Regions from separate parts of the Homo sapiens genome. Here region 1 is linked to region 2. The links are contacts of gene promoters, found by promoter capture Hi-C in blood cells and fetal thymus (Javierre and others, 2016). All regions are on one chromosome and are shown on one strand. Each heading gives the region's core, a stretch centred on a gene start or on the middle of the fragment in contact. The rest is flanking DNA. Distances are from core to core; before and after follow the strand shown.

Region 1 (3,722 bases), core at 293-2,792, 7.0 Mb before region 2:
AGGTATAGTAAATACATAAACCAGAAACAGCCACTTATCATTATGAAGTATTCTGTACTGTACATAATTGTACATACTCCACTTTTACACAAATGGCAACACAGTAGGTTTGTTTATACCAGCATCACCACAAACACGTGAGTAATGTGTTGCAATAAGACCTTAGGACAAAGACAGTATCACCAGGCAATACGAATTTTTCAGCTCTTTATGGGACCACCATTGTATATTGGGCCCATTGTTGATTGAAACATTGTTATGCTGTGCATGAGTGTGATAATTTGTTTTAATAGACATCACAGCAGATACCTCATTTTGTTTTGGTAAGGTGGAATAACTACATAAAATTTCGTAACTTCTTGTACTTGTCATCTTTAAACATTCTTTTGGCCAGAATTGTATTAGTACCTTCTGAAGAATGTATGATGGCTCTTTTTCAATCTAGGTTGGGTTTAGACTAAATTGTATTTCACTTTTAATTAGTGGATACTCCTTATCTATTAGAGATGGGTCAGCAGCCTATTTGCTAATTTATAATTGGCAGCTGGTTACATATATATATATACATATATATATATATTTGTTGTTTTAATTTTTTAATTTTTTTGATATGGAGTCTCACTCTGTGGCCCAGGCTGGAGTGCAGTGGCATGATCTCAGTTCACTGCAACCTCCACCTCCATGGTTCAAGCGATTCTCCTGCCTCAGCTTCCCGAGTGGCTGGGACTACAGGTGAGCACCACCACGCCCAGCTAATTTTTTTTTTTTTTTTTTTAAGTGGAGACAGGTTTCACCATGTTGGCCAGGCTGGTCTCGAACTCCTGACCTCCAGTGATCCACCCGCCTTGGCCTCCCAGAGTGCTGGGATTACAGGTGTGAGCCACTGTGCTCGGCCACTTTCTACTATATTATATGGGGAACAAAATAAAGAAGTTTCTTGGCAGAGGAGGACTATTGTAGCAACAAGCTTTTCATGAATTGCAGTGTCTCCCAATATGCCATTTATTTGGCTGAAAAAACTAGGTCCAGGTTGAATGCAGATTTCCTCCTGTCTCTTTATTCCTTCTCTGCTCTCAAGCCTGGCACGGCTTCCAATGACTCAATCACATGAATGTGAGATTAATGCATTATAGTTCCCTCAAATACTATTTTACTTCCAAGAAATAAAATAATTGTGGAAATGGGTAAAAAGTTGAGAGCATGGGTAAAAGGAATGTGGATTTTCCCATATCTCCTCAAGTTCTACCAATCTTCTATTTCTGAAGCATTGTCTACATTTGGCCCAATTCTTTCGCGTCTCTCTTCCTTTCAAAGGTTGGCTGTGAAGGGTGTCCAGCACATCAAAGAATAGCCTCCAAGAAAGGGGTGAGCTTTGATTCCAGTCAGTCCTCTGTTCTGTGGTGGAAACTCTGGGTCTCATAGAGTGAAGAGGGCAGATGGGATGTGGCTATGGTTTAATCTCCTCTACGTATAACCCAATTAAAGATTCAGGTACAGATCTTCCCTATGAGTTAGCTTATCGTGAATTACTTTACTTGGCTGTCAAATATCTAGCTATGGATTTGTGGAAGAATAGGATTTCTGCATAGGAGGAAGATAGCACCTGAGGGAAACAACTGTCTTTAAGAAAGATGAAGTGCTTCAGGAGGAAGAGGGGGCATACCTGGAGAATTTAGTGGGAAGTTAGTGGTGGGAGGAGGCATGAAGCTAGGATGAGACAGCGGAAAATAGATTAATTTTGTTTATCATATTTGGCAACTTGTCTTGATCTTGATGGTTATGGTCAGAGGTGCCACTGAAAGCCATTGATGTGTACACCTATGCTTGGTATAGCATAGTTTCTTTAGGCGCTGAAAGGTACAAGTTCAAAGGTACTAGAAGACTGGCTTTACAATTTCACTTGTATGATTTAAACAATGAACCTGAATTGTGCAGTTTGATTGTGGAGATAGTATAAATGTCTTGGAACTAATTATTTATATCTGATTGATGGTTGATATTGGATGCTTTCTATCTAAGCAGTTACTATGAACTAGATATACATTAATCCTTTCACCAGACCACTACCCTGTGAGGTCAATATTCGCTCTATTTGCTGATGAAAAAAACGAAGCTTAGAAACAGGATCAGTGGGCTGGGCGCGGTGGCTCACGCCTGTAATCCCAGCACTTTGGGAGGCCGTGGGCAGATCACCTGAGATTGAGAGTTCGAGACCAGCCTGACCAACATGGAGAAACCCCATCTCTAGTAAAAATACAAAATTAGCCGGCCGTCGTGGCACATGCCTGTAATCCCAGCTACTCGGGAGGCTGAGGCAGGAGAATCGCTTGAACCCAGGAGGTGGAGGTTGCTGAGATTGCGCCATTGCACTCCAGCCTGGGCAAAACAAGAGGAAAAAACTTCGTCTCAAAAAAAAAAAAAAAAGAAAGAAACAGGATCAGTAACTTCCCCAAGGCTACACAGCTAGTAAGTGGGAGATTTATAGTAAATAGGCTGGGCGTGGCGGCTCACACGGGTAATCCCAGCACTTTGGGAGGCCAAGGCGGGTGGATCACTTGAGGTCAGGAGTTCAAGGCCAGCCTGGCCAACATGGCGAAACCCCATCTCTACTAAAAATACACAAATCAGCTGGGCGTGGTGGTGCACGCCTGTAGTCCCAGCTACTTAGGAAGCCGAGGCAGGAGAATAGCTTGAACCTGGGAGGCAAAGGGTGCAGTGAGCCAAGATCGCGCCACTGCACTCCAGCCTGGGCGACAGGGCAAGACTCTGTCTCTCAGAAAAAAAGAAAGAAAGAAAGAAAGAAAAAAAAAGATTTATAGTAAGTCTAAGATTTTTCACAACATATTTTTCCTCCCTAATCATTTGGCTATTTGTCTTTAGCTCTTACAGAAAAGTTGGGTTATAGTCCTGGCTTTGATTACCCATCTCAGTGTCATTGATTGTGCCACCTAAATTTCTCTGGACATCTTGTCTGGTTGGTTGAATGAGAGGGTTGGACTATGTGATCACCAGGACCTTTCTAATCGTCAACTCCTAGAATATACATTTTGTGGATTCAGTCTTTGAGTCTAGCTCACTTACTCAGTTTCCTAAATATTTGGAGCAAATATAGTATACTTTTATTGTTAAGGATATATCACTTACCCCTAATGTTAGCTGACTGCATGGGTTATAATTGTAATCATTCATCGCATTTTTCGTCTATTAGCAAATATACATGCTCTCCATAGATGATCACGTCTGCTCCTCACAACAGCTTTATAAGGTGGATTTTAAAGCTCCCATTTTATGGAGGAGGAAGCTAAGGCTCAGACGGTTTTGATTCATCCAAGGTCAAATAGGTTGGGTGGCAGAACCAGAATTCCAGCCCCGTGTGTCTGCAACAAAACCTTTATATGTTTAAAGAAACATTAATGAAGCCGTATATATTTTCTAATTCTAAGGATCATGGACTTTATTTTTCAACCACAGATTTTTTTTTCCTCCTTCTTAAATCATTAGCTCTTGTCTTTGATTTTACTGTCTGCTTACTTCCTGCCTACTTAACCAACCGACAGGGAGAAGGAGAATGGGAAGAGGTTACTGTTTTTATGTTAAGTGTCTTTTCAAAGTCTAATTTACAGCCAAGAACAGCAAAAGTACCCCTTGGCTTTGTGCCTCTGCGGCGCCCCGGAGATCTCCTTCCCCGTCCCTCTTCCTTTCCGAGAAGCCGCGTTCCGTTG
Region 2 (3,578 bases), core at 595-3,094:
TAAACTGAAGGAACTGCATCAAAAAGTATTTGCAAAACAAACCGAAAAAGAAAAAAACCCATCAAACTTCTTTGAACATGTGTTACTGCAAATCAGGTCCTTAGTTACAGAAGATACTCCTTCCATCATTTAAGACCAAGGGGGCCTCCTTTGAATCAAGCATTTTTGCGGGTCTGCTATGGCCTTAAATCAAATAATAACCTTTTAAAATTCACATAATGTAGGTTATCTAGGCTATTGCTTAGATTTAGTAGAAGTATAGGGTAATGGTTAAGAGTTTCAAATGTCAGAGACCCTCGGGGGCTCCTGACATTTTGGGGTCAGCTGTGTCAATTATTATCTGTGTGTCCTTCAGCAGTCACTTAACCTATCTAGGACCAACATTTTGGTACTTCATCTGCAAAACGAGAATAACTGCATCCTCCTCAGAGGGTTGCTGTGAGGACTACTGTGTGTCTGGAACACAGTTAAGTAATTTCACTACAAAAAAAAAAAATTAAATAGCATCATCTTTGACTATTCAAAACACATCACTTTTCAGCCAAAGACAAAGAGCAAATAACTGGAGTAGGAAACAAAATAAACGAAAGCAATAGGCCAAGTGATATACTTCCAAATTTTCTGGATAATTAAAGACCGACGCCTTGACTTCATAAAGAAGTACTGTACTCAATTTTCTAGAAAATGCTTAGAATTGCTTCAAGAATAAAAGTGAGCTAGATGTTAGGAGGTCGGATTCCTAGTCGTGAGTATAGTCCTATCTACCTATTTGACTACTGATAATTTATTTGACCTTTTTATCTATTCACACATCTAGTAATATCATATTCTGCTGTAATTTCTCTCCATCTATGCGTCTCCTCAGTCCTCCACCCCTTATGTAGGCAACGTCTCTAAGGCAAGATCCATACCTCCAGCATCTTTGCATCTCCACCGCCCAGCTCGCCATAAGTTCCCAACAAATAATGAATTGGTATCGCTTTACCTATAAGGGATTTATCCTAATCTAGTTCTAGTAATTTGTAAAATTCCAGGGCAGAAATTCAGCAAAAGAGCGAGATCTTCTTTCATTAAATTCTGAATACTGTCAACTTATGGGATCGATCCTTAAATCCACAATCTACGACTCATTTGTCCGTATGCAGAAATGCCGGTTTCCTTTGTGTCCCGTGGACCTTTTGTCTACTAGAAAAGGCAGATATTGCCTCATTTTGATAAAATGTCCATTCTACGGTTTAAAAGGTTAGCTTTTCTCTTAAGTCTCTTAGGTTTGATTCATCAAATCATCCAGTGAACAGCAGGCGCTCCAATGTTCACCTCTGCTGTGTAGGAACCAAACCCGACCTTCCCGGCCCCGCCTCCGACTGTCTCTAACTACGCGGTATCTCACCTCGTGGTCGCCGCAAGCCTCGGGCTCCGGGTGTACAGCGAACCCAAAGAGGACCTGCTCGTAGCAACCAGCGACCAGCTCCATTCAGCAGCGCACGTGCCTCTTCCGCCAGCCCGGCTCAGCCTGGAGGTGACAGAACCGGAAACCAAAAAAAAAAAAAAAAAAACACCTGACTCCTTTCTGCATCGGCGCTCGAATTATACGTCAGGCTCCAGGGCTGCCTTTAAGTCGCCTGTAACGTGGAAACACTTTAAGCGCGGGGAGGTCACATGGATTTTCCAAGAAGAGAATAAGTAAAGATGCCACATGAGGAGGTTCTCACTGCAAGGAGAAAAAAATCGGGGGCAAGCAGGCATATCTCAGGAAGGTGCCAGCTACGCCCGTCTGAAGGGAGCGGGCGGGACATCCTCTGCGAAGCCCTTCATTTCCGTGACATCAGGAGGAGGTGGGGCCGACTTCCGGCCGGTTGCTTAGGGGCTGTAGCGCCGGCAGCGTGCATTGTTGTGGGCTGTGTACTAGTAGGGTAGGAGTTTTTGTTCAGGGACCAGCGGAACGAGGCTTTCTGTCGTTAATAGGGTAAGGAGGGGTGGGATTAGGGTTCGCGGTGACTTGTTCCAGCGGCGCAGCGCTCGCGCTGCCTTGACGGACTCGGAGTGCTAGATGTGTCCGCGTTCCCGTCTGCCCGGGCCAGAACCCCAGCCCTGCACACTTTCTCTGTCTGCTTGTCTAACTCTGGGGCTGTATTGGCCAAGGTTGCGGCACCTCCTGGGGAGGGAGCAGTGAGCCTTCATTTTTTTTTTTTTTTTTTTGAGACGGAGTTTCGCTCTTTTTGCCCAGGCTGGAGTCCGGTGGCGCGATTTCGGCTCACCGCAACCTCTGCCTCCCGGGTTCAAGCAATTCTCCTGCCTCAGCCTCCCGAGTAGCTGGGATTACAGGCATACGCCACCACGCCTGGCTAATTTTGTATTTTTTAGTAGAGACAGGGTTTCTCCATGTTGGCTAGGCTGGTTTTGAACTCCCGACCGCAGGTGATCCGCTTGCCTCGACCTCCCAAAGTTGCTGGGATTGCAGGCGTGAGCCACAGCGCCCGGCCAGAGCCTTCATTTGAGAGTTGGGAAAACAAAGTGAGCCTGAGCAACATATTTTGATGCCGTCTCTACAAAAATGTTATAAATTAGCCCAGCATGGCGACGCCCGCCTGTGGCCTCAGCAACTCGGAAGGCTGAGGTGGGAGGATTGCTTGAGCCCAGGAGGTCGAGGCTGCAGTGAGCCGAGATCGCTCCACTGCATTCCAGTCTGGGGGACGAGCCAGGCCCCCTTTCAAAGAAAAAAAAAGTTTTATTTAATAAGGTTTAGAGATTCAGGTATGTCTTAGACATTACAGCTTTCCTACAAGCTCCCAACAGAGTAAATCTTGGTTCGTATAGTTCTCATAAACACCGTAGTAGGTCATTTGGTAAACAAGATGCATAGTCCATCCTTCTCAAATCTTCAGCCTCCATTTCAAGTGCGATACAGTGCTTCAGCGCTTAGACCCTTTTGTTTCCAATAACTTTTCTTCTCTGGTGTTCTGAATTGTTAGTACGTGTTAATAGAGGCTAGTTTGGGTCTTGCAGAAATGATTTCATTTGGGATGCTTTGGTTGTCACTGCAGTGCAGAAAAGACCTTGTTATTGTTAGAAATAGATAATTGGTGACACGAAGAAAAGTCAGCATGGAGACAAAAGATCTCTCAGCAAGGCAATTTTTACTTTATGCAGAAAGGGTGCTCAATTGCAGATGGAACGATGGTGAGAGCACTCCTGAACAAAGGAAAAGCAGACATATTTGTCCCTTACGCCTTTGGGTTGTCCTTACTGCTGTGTCCTGCATCCGTTGGCTGGGGCTGGACCTCATAATCTTAAACTGATACCCGATTTGCTAAACAGGCTGTGAGCTGGAACGTGCCTGGGCCTGTGAGCATGTCCCGCAGTTACATACAATAGGGCTTAACAGAGTTATTAGCACAAAGCAAGGAGGCTTGAAGTAAGTTAGTCTTTAAAAGAAACTATTGTTTCTAACATTTATGATTTATTCTTTAACAAGAAGGGAAACTTTGAAGAGGCAACTTTTTACTTTCTACGTCATCTGCCAGCTTTGTCCACGCCAAATGTAAACACTTCTCAAGACACTGAAATGCTGTTGACAA

Evidence for each region. Contacts are between HindIII fragments. The CHiCAGO score rates a contact against its expected background, and 5 or more counts as called.
Region 1: a fragment that was not itself captured here is called in contact with the fragment with the promoter of C6orf52 in region 2 in 4 of 17 cell types (non-activated CD4 T cells, total CD4 T cells, activated CD4 T cells and 1 more); the score reaches 8.0 in non-activated CD4 T cells.

What each region holds. Positions count from the first base shown.
Region 1 is chr6:17,707,049-17,710,770 of GRCh38, reverse strand. It overlaps NUP153-AS1 (NUP153 antisense RNA 1), which reads right to left. Exons shown (of 3, transcript NR_134618.1): 1 at 3,643-3,722; 2 at 3,145-3,377. Among named protein-coding and RNA genes, the nearest start is that of NUP153-AS1, 1.9 kb to the right of the region's middle. RefSeq lists an enhancer at 3,655-3,722. The HindIII fragment of the contact is 1,146 bases long and covers 970-2,115 here.
Region 2 is chr6:10,692,882-10,696,459 of GRCh38, reverse strand. It overlaps C6orf52 (chromosome 6 open reading frame 52), which reads left to right and starts at 1,844. Exons shown (of 5, transcript NM_001145020.3): 1 at 1,844-1,966. It overlaps PAK1IP1 (PAK1 interacting protein 1), which reads right to left and starts at 1,488. Exons shown (of 10, transcript NM_017906.3): 1 at 1,391-1,488. The coding sequence starts at 1,474. RefSeq lists enhancers at 1,461-1,840, 1,270-1,872, 1,881-1,930. The HindIII fragment of the contact is 16,030 bases long and covers 1-3,578 here.